3 separate regions of the Homo sapiens genome follow, and all the other regions are linked to region 3. The links are contacts of gene promoters, found by promoter capture Hi-C in blood cells and fetal thymus (Javierre and others, 2016). All regions are on one chromosome and are shown on one strand. The core of a region is centred on a gene start or on the middle of the fragment in contact, and the rest is flanking DNA. Distances in the headings are between cores, read along the strand shown.

The links. Contacts are between HindIII fragments. The CHiCAGO score rates a contact against its expected background, and 5 or more counts as called.
Region 1: a fragment that was not itself captured here is called in contact with the fragment with the promoter of CCDC126 in region 3 in 2 of 17 cell types (total B cells and total CD8 T cells); the score reaches 6.0 in total B cells.
Region 2: a contact is called between a fragment that was not itself captured here and the fragment with the promoter of CCDC126 in region 3, in 1 of 17 cell types (naive CD8 T cells). The highest score is 5.4, in naive CD8 T cells.

What each region holds. Positions count from the first base shown.
Region 1 is chr7:24,567,828-24,570,527 of GRCh38, forward strand. No RefSeq gene overlaps it. Among named protein-coding and RNA genes, the nearest start is that of PALS2, 4.3 kb to the right of the region's middle. The HindIII fragment of the contact is 1,322 bases long and covers 697-2,018 here.
Region 2 is chr7:24,589,518-24,592,431 of GRCh38, forward strand. All of the region lies in intron 1 of PALS2 (protein associated with LIN7 2, MAGUK p55 family member), which reads left to right. Among named protein-coding and RNA genes, the nearest start is that of PALS2, 18 kb to the left of the region's middle. The HindIII fragment of the contact is 2,116 bases long and covers 195-2,310 here.
Region 3 is chr7:23,595,899-23,598,909 of GRCh38, forward strand. It overlaps CCDC126 (coiled-coil domain containing 126), which reads left to right and starts at 1,484. Exons shown (of 4, transcript NM_138771.4): 1 at 1,484-1,707; 2 at 2,069-2,153. It overlaps LOC105375187 (a long non-coding RNA gene), which reads right to left and starts at 1,427. Exons shown (of 2, transcript XR_927098.2): 1 at 1,219-1,427. RefSeq lists a silencer at 1,726-1,965. The HindIII fragment of the contact is 1,118 bases long and covers 1,172-2,289 here.

The sequences.
Region 1 (2,700 bases), core at 108-2,607, 970 kb after region 3:
GGCATTCCTGTACACATCACCCTGGATTTTACCTGCAAGAAAGAAGGGGATGGGGCTGAGTGGCGGTAAAAAGAATGCAAAGATAAATATTTGAAAACATAAATGATGCTTTTATGAAGCAGAATAGGAAAGGAGCCATAAGATGCAATTAAAGTGCTACAGGAGTTCAAAGGAGAGCAATTACACTAGTCCCTTCTTATCCAAGAGGGCATCCATTCCAAGCCCCCCAGTGAATACCTGAAACCATGGATAGTACTGCACTGTACATATTTTATATATATATATATATATATATATATATGTACTATGGTTTGTAGACATACATACCTATGATAAAGTTTTTAATTTATACATTAGGCACGTTAAGAGATTAACAATAACTAATAATAAAATAGAACAATTATAACAATATACCTTCATAAAAGTTACGTGAACATAGTGTCTCTCTTTCTCAAAATATCTTATCATACTGTACTGAGGAAAACTGAAACCTTGGAAAGTGAAACCATGAATAAGGGGGGACTGGGGGACTACTGTACCTCTGTTTGAGGTGAGGCAGAAAGGGTTTCATGGAAAAGGAGGGTGTGAGATGAGCACACATGCTTGGATTTTGGCCAGCAGAGATGGCAGAAGGCAAAAACAGGGGTAGAAACATAAAGATACAAGATATGACTAACTAGAATATCCAAACAGGGAAGCTTTGACTGTCATTGTGAATGACCTTGTAAATGGGGTCCCGTAGGCAGTAAGGAGACAGGGATAAAATGACTGGCACCTGGCAGTCAGGGCAAGGAGGCCCTGAGGCAGGGAGATGAGTTAGGAGACTCTGTAGGACTAAAGCAAATAAACAAGAGAATCCATTCCTATAATTTTGAGAAAGTGGGCTGCAAGGGATTTGAGTATGTGTTTGTTCAGGAGATGGTAAAAGGAGGTAAAGGAAAGGAAGGTGCCAGAAAAACCAGCAGGAGCAACCCCGTGAATAGCTTATCTAGATGGAAATTTTCAACAGCGAGTTGAAAATATGCCTCAAGGGAGAATAGATACAGATGTGGAAGCATTGGTGCTAGAGTCCTAAGGATCCCTGGGATTCTCAAGATAAACAGTACTATCTGCTCTTTTTAAGTTTCTCCTCAAAAATTTATTTCATTCTTAGTGGAACATTTTTCTTTAGGAAGTAGGAGGAGATAACACAGCAAAGTAAGGGTCAGAGATGGAACAGTCAGAGAGGTCGAAAGAGCTCCCAGGTGGTATGGTATCAGAGAAGTTAAAGGAAAAGAGAGGTTTAGAGAGTGAGAGTACGAGAGATTAACCTCCTCAAACACTGCAGAGAAGTTCAATGGCATGAACACTAAGCAAAGACCTTCCCCACTAATTCTGTCATATACTATTAAGACACCTGGCATAGCACTTATTATGTAATATTTTGCTTATTATTCTTCGCCATTAGGTAGGGACTACTTGATATTGTTAATTTTTTTATTTTCATTATGCTTCACTAGTAAATGAGTGACTGAATGGATGAACACATGAATGAAAATGTTAATTGTGATGGAAATAGTAGTTTCAGCAGAGAAGTGGGTGTGGAAGCCCAATTCCAATGCCTAAAATAAACAAATAATGGTAAGAAAAGTCAAGGAGATATGCTGAGATATATAGTTTTCTTTTTTAAGGAAAAACCAAACAACCCCAAAACTCAAGTTCTTATAATGTTTGGCTTTAATTGTGATGATTAAAAAAAAAAAAAGAACTGCCATCGTATCAGGAAATGTTTTTTCAGACAGCTAGTTTAGAGGAGAAAGTTCTGCTAAGACATTTCTGTTTGAGACAGTTGACCCAGTGGGACTTTTGGAAAGATTTAGATTATAAGAAAAGCCTCTGACAAATATCTATGAAAGCAAGATTAAAACAATAATGTACACAATCAACTGAGGTCCAGCGGTTTGTAAACCAGTGCCAGTCGGGATGCTCAGAGCTGGGAACGGTGATCTTCAGGCAGCCAGGTGAGACTAATCTGGAGAAGCTTTAGGAAGGAGATAAATTTAAGCTGTTTTGAAAGGGGACTATTCTAGTCAATTGGCAAAGAGTCTTAAAGCACAGGATTAGGAATTTTAATTTGATTACTCGAGGTAATTTGGAGCTACCCCACTGTTGTGAAGATTTGGTATAAATGTTGTTTGGAAGATGATTCATTTCCATAGTTCTTAACTCTGGCTGCGTATTAGAGTTATCTGGAGAGCTCTGAAAAAATCCTGGCACCCAGGCTGTGCTCCAGAGCAATTAAGTCTGGGATGGCATCAAAGCATCAGTGCTTTGTTTTGTTTCTTAAAGTTCTCTGGGTGATTTCAATAAAGAGCCAAAAATTAAGAAGCACTGCTCTGAGTATAGGATAAATTGCAAGGAAGCAAGAGAGAGGCTAGAATTAGAAAGGTTAGCAAGGAGGCTGGAAATTGGAATCTGACCTAGCTTTGTGAGCAGAGATAAAAGGAGTGAAGCTAAATAAAGTATTCTGAAGGAAAACTTGGTTGGACTTTGTGATGCATGCCAGTTGCATTTTTAAATAAAGCTATCCTCCAGGAGTGTCACTGCTTTTACTATGATGGATTAGTTGAAAAACAAGTACACAGGATTTGCTTTTGCTAAAATTCGGGGCTATTAGCAAAATTCTCAATTTCTGTAGGAGCAAAGCAGGTCAGAAGAGAA
Region 2 (2,914 bases), core at 3-2,502, 990 kb after region 3:
TTACCTAAGAAATATTTAAGTGTGTGAAGAGACTACTTTTCTGAGTGTAGAAATTTCAGGGCAGTCAAATGCATTTCTGTATTGTTAATGCTCTGAACAAGCTAGTGTACCTGGAGGGAGGAATTTATGTTGGTTAATGAGTAACATAGTTCTCTCATCCCATTACTTATTTATGATCAATTTATTTTTAATTAAGCTTTTAAAATTATTAATGCTACATGACATGCAAAGTTAAAATCAGCATGGAAGAATGAATGTACCATGAAAGTTAAAGGTTTCTATCCCTACTCTTACTTCATAGAGTTAATCATGGTTAGTAGTTTCAGATTTAGTTATATTAGTAAAGTGGTTCTCAATTCATGACTGGCATTTTTGGCAGTACTATACTTTGCAATGCAGGATTGTCCTGACCTGAACACTACTCAGTGTTTAGTGTCCCTTAATATTTGGTTTTCTACCACAGTTACTGAGACAATCAAAAATGGCCTAGTACATTTCCAAATGCTCACTGGGGAGAGGTGGTATGCTAATTTTAAAAAACATACATCTTAGAAAGCATATGTTTATGTTTTCAATTTCACACAGTAAGTATTGACTCTAGTATAAAAGAATATTTAAGTGCGCACAGACTTCTTGAGGGAGGCCCAGAGAAAGTCCACTTGGGAGGAACTGTGCTTACTTCTAAAGTCTTAGATGATAAGATTTTTCAATCTTACCTGCTTTCTTTCCTGATAGTCTTACTTTCTTGTGTTTTCAGCTACCTGTCTTTTTGTTACTGTTTGATGATTTTTGAATTGTGTGCTCTTGCTTCGCTGGGTTTTATTGGAGGAAATTCTGTGCAGCCCAGTTAGAGGACACATTCTTTCCAAGGTTTGCCAAGGCTTTTCTTTGGCACCTGTGGAAGCCACTGACCCAAGACCACTTCGTAGTTTCTCTGCTTGGGGTGTTCTGAACTAGGCAGGTAGGTATATTTGGAACCCTGAATCCTTGAGAGTAGGCTGTGATTACTAATTCTCAGGTGATATTTTTTTCTGCTAATATGGAGTCCAATCTGAGACAGGCCAACTTCCTTATTGTCTTCCTTGGCCAACAGGCATGTTTTTATTAGACTACTCTTACAAAGTAGGGGTTAGTCCTATAAGGTCTCAGCTTCATGTGGGAAGGTCTAAGTTGCATTTTTCATCTTGAACAGGCCAGGGCCTAAATGGCAGCTTCTGAACTCCTGGTTACTGAAATCCTAAACACCCCAGGGCAGTCATAACTTCAGTACCTACTTACTAGTTTGTTTTTTCCCCTTCATATTGGCTCACAGGGATATTCTTGGGGACTTTTTTTTTTTTTTTGAGGGGATGTTTTCAGTATTTTATTTTGCATTTTTAGATGTTTTGTGAGAGAATTATTTTCAGATTTTCAAGGGTACCTTCTTTGCCAAACCAGCAAGCCTTTCTTATCTGTTTTCTAACTTCTAAGCAGTTCCTAAACTTCTGGTTTGCTAATCTCTTTCTCTTTTATTTTTGTCTCACCTCCCCTCCAGTATTAGTGCTGTTTTATTCTTTTTTAAAATTACATACCTGTTTTGTCATTTCAGTGGGACCTCAGGAGGGAGGGAACATAGGCATGTGTGTTCAGTCTTCCACTTTAACTGGAAGTGTGTCTAATAGTTTTGAGGTATACTATGTCTATTAGGACCAACTGACCTTAGGAAAAATCAATGTAAATACCTTTCCATTTAACTGTCATTTTAAGTTTGAATTTAAAAAGCATAGTCTTTGGCTGTAAAAGAGGGACAGGGTCAGGAATGGAGGATGACATTCAGACCATTATGCAGTTGAGCAAGGCCTCACTGAGATAGGGGGCAGTGTGTAGCTTGACATACGTGGGCTCTTACCATAAAGTCTAGCTATATAAAGCAAATCACATTACAATGATGAGAAGCCAGAATTTTAAAATTTCATCCAATGAGTATTTATTAAATGTGATGTGTCTGGAGTAATACTAAGAATTAGAGTACAAAAATAAATAAAATGCCATATCCTCAGTGAACCCACTAATTTTGTGTTAGAGATAGACATGTAAATTAAAATAGTTCTCATTATTCAAGATAGTTATGGTGTATAAAGTCTCTGCAAATGCAGAATTATCAAATGCTGAGCCGTGTTGCTTCTAGGGGAAATGCAGGGTTAGGTTCCTGCAAGCCTTTAGTCACAGTATGTTCATCAACTGGTCAATATATAGCCTTTTTTATCTGTATTTCTCTTTAAAGATACTTTATTATATATTATTGATTCATTAACATTGTACTCATAGCCAAGCTTACCATATCTTATGCCTGAACAAAGCTTGTCTAATATGTACATTTTTCTGTAAAGCACACCAGAGCCTTTTCATGATAAAGAAACACTAGATAGCACTTCAGTGCTATGATTGGGGACCATTTTGTGAAATCACAAACAACAGAAAAATGCAAAAAAAAAAGTGGCACAAAATAAACTATGAAAAGGATACTTGTTTTTAGTATGAGAGCCGAAACAAGAAAGCAGAGTGTTGCTTTCTTCCACCTCAGCTGGGACTGTGCAATGTTGGGTGACTCAAATTTTTCACCACTCTGCATATCCACTAATGACCACAAAAGCTCTGTAAGTATCGATTATTGGATTAAAAGTAAATTTTAGCAAGTAGGCAAATTCGCAAACACAGAATAATGAGAATCAACTGTACTGTATAATGTGGTAAGTGCTGTATATTGTAAATCTGCTAGGTTGGGTCAGGGAAGGCTTCATTTGAGACAATTAAGATGAATTTACAGCAGTATGAAGCAATGAATCTATGGAATGGCAAATGGTCCAGAGTGGTTGGAATAAAAGGGCCCCTGTAAGGAGAGGCAAGTGGGGACGTTTGGACTGGCCAGCTAACA
Region 3 (3,011 bases), core at 234-2,733:
TGATCCTCCTGCCCCCAGCCTCTTGAGTAGCAGGGACTATAGGTGCATGCCACCACAACTGGCTGACTTTGGTATTTTTTTGGGGGGTACAGATGGGGTTTTGCCATGTTGCCCAGGCTGGTCTTGAACTCCAGGCTCAAGCAATCCACTTGCCTCAGCCTCCCGAAGTGCTGAGATCATAGGCATGGGCCACCGTGCCTAGTCTATAATAAAGCTTGTTATCCGGTAGCACAAGTTTTCCTCCTCCCACTCCTTCTCCTCTTCTTTTTTTTTCTTCCTCCTCTTCCTCATGAATGCTTGTCTTTGCTCTTCCATAACATTTTGAATTAGCTTGTCAAGTTTCTCACACATACACAGAAATTTATTGAGATTTTGTTGGGAATTGCACTGGCTCTGTAGGTAGGTTTGGAGAGACTTGGCATTTTTCAGTATTGACTCTTCCAATTTATGAACATGTTACATCTTTATTTAGGTCTTCTTCAGTGTCTTCCAATGTTTTCTTCAGGCAGGTTTTGCATTTCTTTGATCGATTTATTCCTAGGTACTTGATATTTGTTTGGAGCTGTTGGAAATGGTATCTTTAAAAAAATTATCTTTTTTACTAGCATATATAAATAAATATTGATTTTTTAAAATATGATTTTTGTATCTATTAACCTTGTTAAAAACTTTTATTGTTAACAGTTTATCTGCAGATTGTTTTGAAGTGCCACAAACAATTTTTTTTTTTTTTTGAGACGGAGTTCTGCTCTTGTTGCCCAGGCTGGAGTGCAGTGGCGCGATATCAGCTCACTGCAACCTCCGCCTCCTGGGTTCAAGCAATTCTCCCGCCTCAGCTCCCCGAGAGGCTGGAATTACAGGCGTCCGCCACCTCGCCCTGCTAAGTTCGTATCTGTAGTAGAGACGGGGTTTCACCATGTTGGCCAGGCTGGTCTCGAATTCCCGACCTCAGGTGATCCTCCCGTCTTGGCCTCACAAACTGCTGGGATTACAGGCATGAGCCAACGGCGCCCGGCCTCCACGTACATAATTACATAATCTATGAAAAAATAATTTTGTTTCTTCCTATTTAATCTTCAATCCTTTTATTTTTCTTGCCTCACTCCACTGGCTAAGGACCTTTGGCTTCAATAATGGGTAGTCTCATCTGTAGCACACTTAATCATCACTAAGCTTTCCCAGCCTCAGGTCAATAGTATTAGGAGGTTGGTTCCTCACCGGAGGGTCGGGAACAAGACGCCAGAGCCCTTCTTCCAGCGCCTGCAGCGAGTTAAGGCCGAGGGTATGCCTCTGGCGGGCTCATCTTCCAACACAGAAGACCCCGCCGCCCTCTCTGGTTGCCGCGCAGCTGCGTCGTTCTGACCCAGGGTAGGTGCAGGGCGGCTGGAAGCACGTGCCGCCGCTTCCTCATTCTGGGACTACATCCCCCACAATGCCGCGCGCCGCGGGCGGCTGGCCCCCGAGTGCGGGAAGGGCCGGCAGGGAGGCGGAGCGGAAGCCGAGTGCGAGGGACGAGCGGAGTAAAATCTCCACAAGCTGGGAACAAACCTCGTCCCAACTCCCACCCACCGGCGTTTCTCCAGCTCGATCTGGAGGCTGCTTCGCCAGTGTGGGACGCAGCTGACGCCCGCTTATTAGCTCTCGCTGCGTCGCCCCGGCTCAGAAGCTCCGTGGCGGCGGCGACCGTGACGAGAAGCCCACGGCCAGGTAATGAGTAAGGGGCGAGTCCGCCAGCCGGGCCCGCACCTCTCGCGCGCCCCTCAGCCTAGCCGGCCGCTCCTCCCCCGCCGCGCCCCCGTCCCCGGTCCCCGCCCCGCTAGGGCCGCTGCTGCGGAAACCCGGCTTAGGAACGGGCCGGCAGCCTCCGGCCGCGGCCGGGAAGGCTCTTTGTCCCTTCCTTTGGGCCGCGTCTCTGCCCCTCCGCGTCTGACAGCCGCGGCGCCTCGGCTCGGGCGGAGAGCCGAGCGTGGCTGGGGCTGCGCGAGTCGAGCGGGGCGGGCTTGGTCCGGAGCTGCGGGATGTAGATCCCGGGCGGCACCGCACTCACTTCTTTTTCTGTTTTTGACAGCTCAGTTCTCTTCTACTTTGGGAGAGAGAGAAAGTCAGATGCCCCTTTTAAACTCCCTCTTCAAAACTCATCTCCTGGGTGACTGGTAAGGATGAACTTAAACTGCCGTGTTGATTGTTGACTGTGACGGTAATGAGAATGGCTCAGCCAGCTAGGGTTCGAATCCTGCCTGGGTTTCTCTCACTGCCTGCCTTGGTGATCTTGGTTACTTAAAGGCTCTAAGCTTGAGTTTTCTCATCCATCAAAACACACACCTGTAAGTGGTTAGAATTAGGAATATAGACCTATAACGTCATTAGTTCTTCATTTGATGAAAAGATCCTTTGTGATACTTTCATTAGCTATGACTGAAGTGACCGAAGTGGCCTCTGGACTTGAGTTTTGTGCTTTTGTTTGTTTAATCATCCTGGGTTGTGTGTTCTTCACTTTATCTTAAACCTAACCAAAGGATTCATTAAAATATGCCGTCTTCCTAATTTTTGCTGTTTTAAGATGGCTGAGAATGTTCTTAGGAAATTGATGACTCTGCTTTTCTGTGGATCAGCTTCAGAGGTACAAGTATTCACCTCTCCCCTCCCCCTCAGGTGTGTCCTTTGGGAATCCTTAGAGGCGCTAAGTGTTTGTTTCGTCAGAGTAGGCATCCAGGTATTTTACAGTCCTGCCTCTGGGCTTCACCATATTTAACCTGGGTCAACTTTTTTCTACATCTGTCTGCATCTTCTCACTGATTAATAATTTCTCACTCTAAAATGTGTTGCAAAAATACTTGTTTTGAGGAAAATGTTTCTATGTTGGTGTTATTTAGTGCAGTGTAGGACAGAGAGTAATGGCTACGGAAATAGGAGTCCTTAGTTTTGTCCTTGCTCTGTCACTATCTGTGTAACCTGAGATTACTTTGTGGTCCTCAATGTCCTCATCTCTAAAATAGTGAATTGGTCTGATT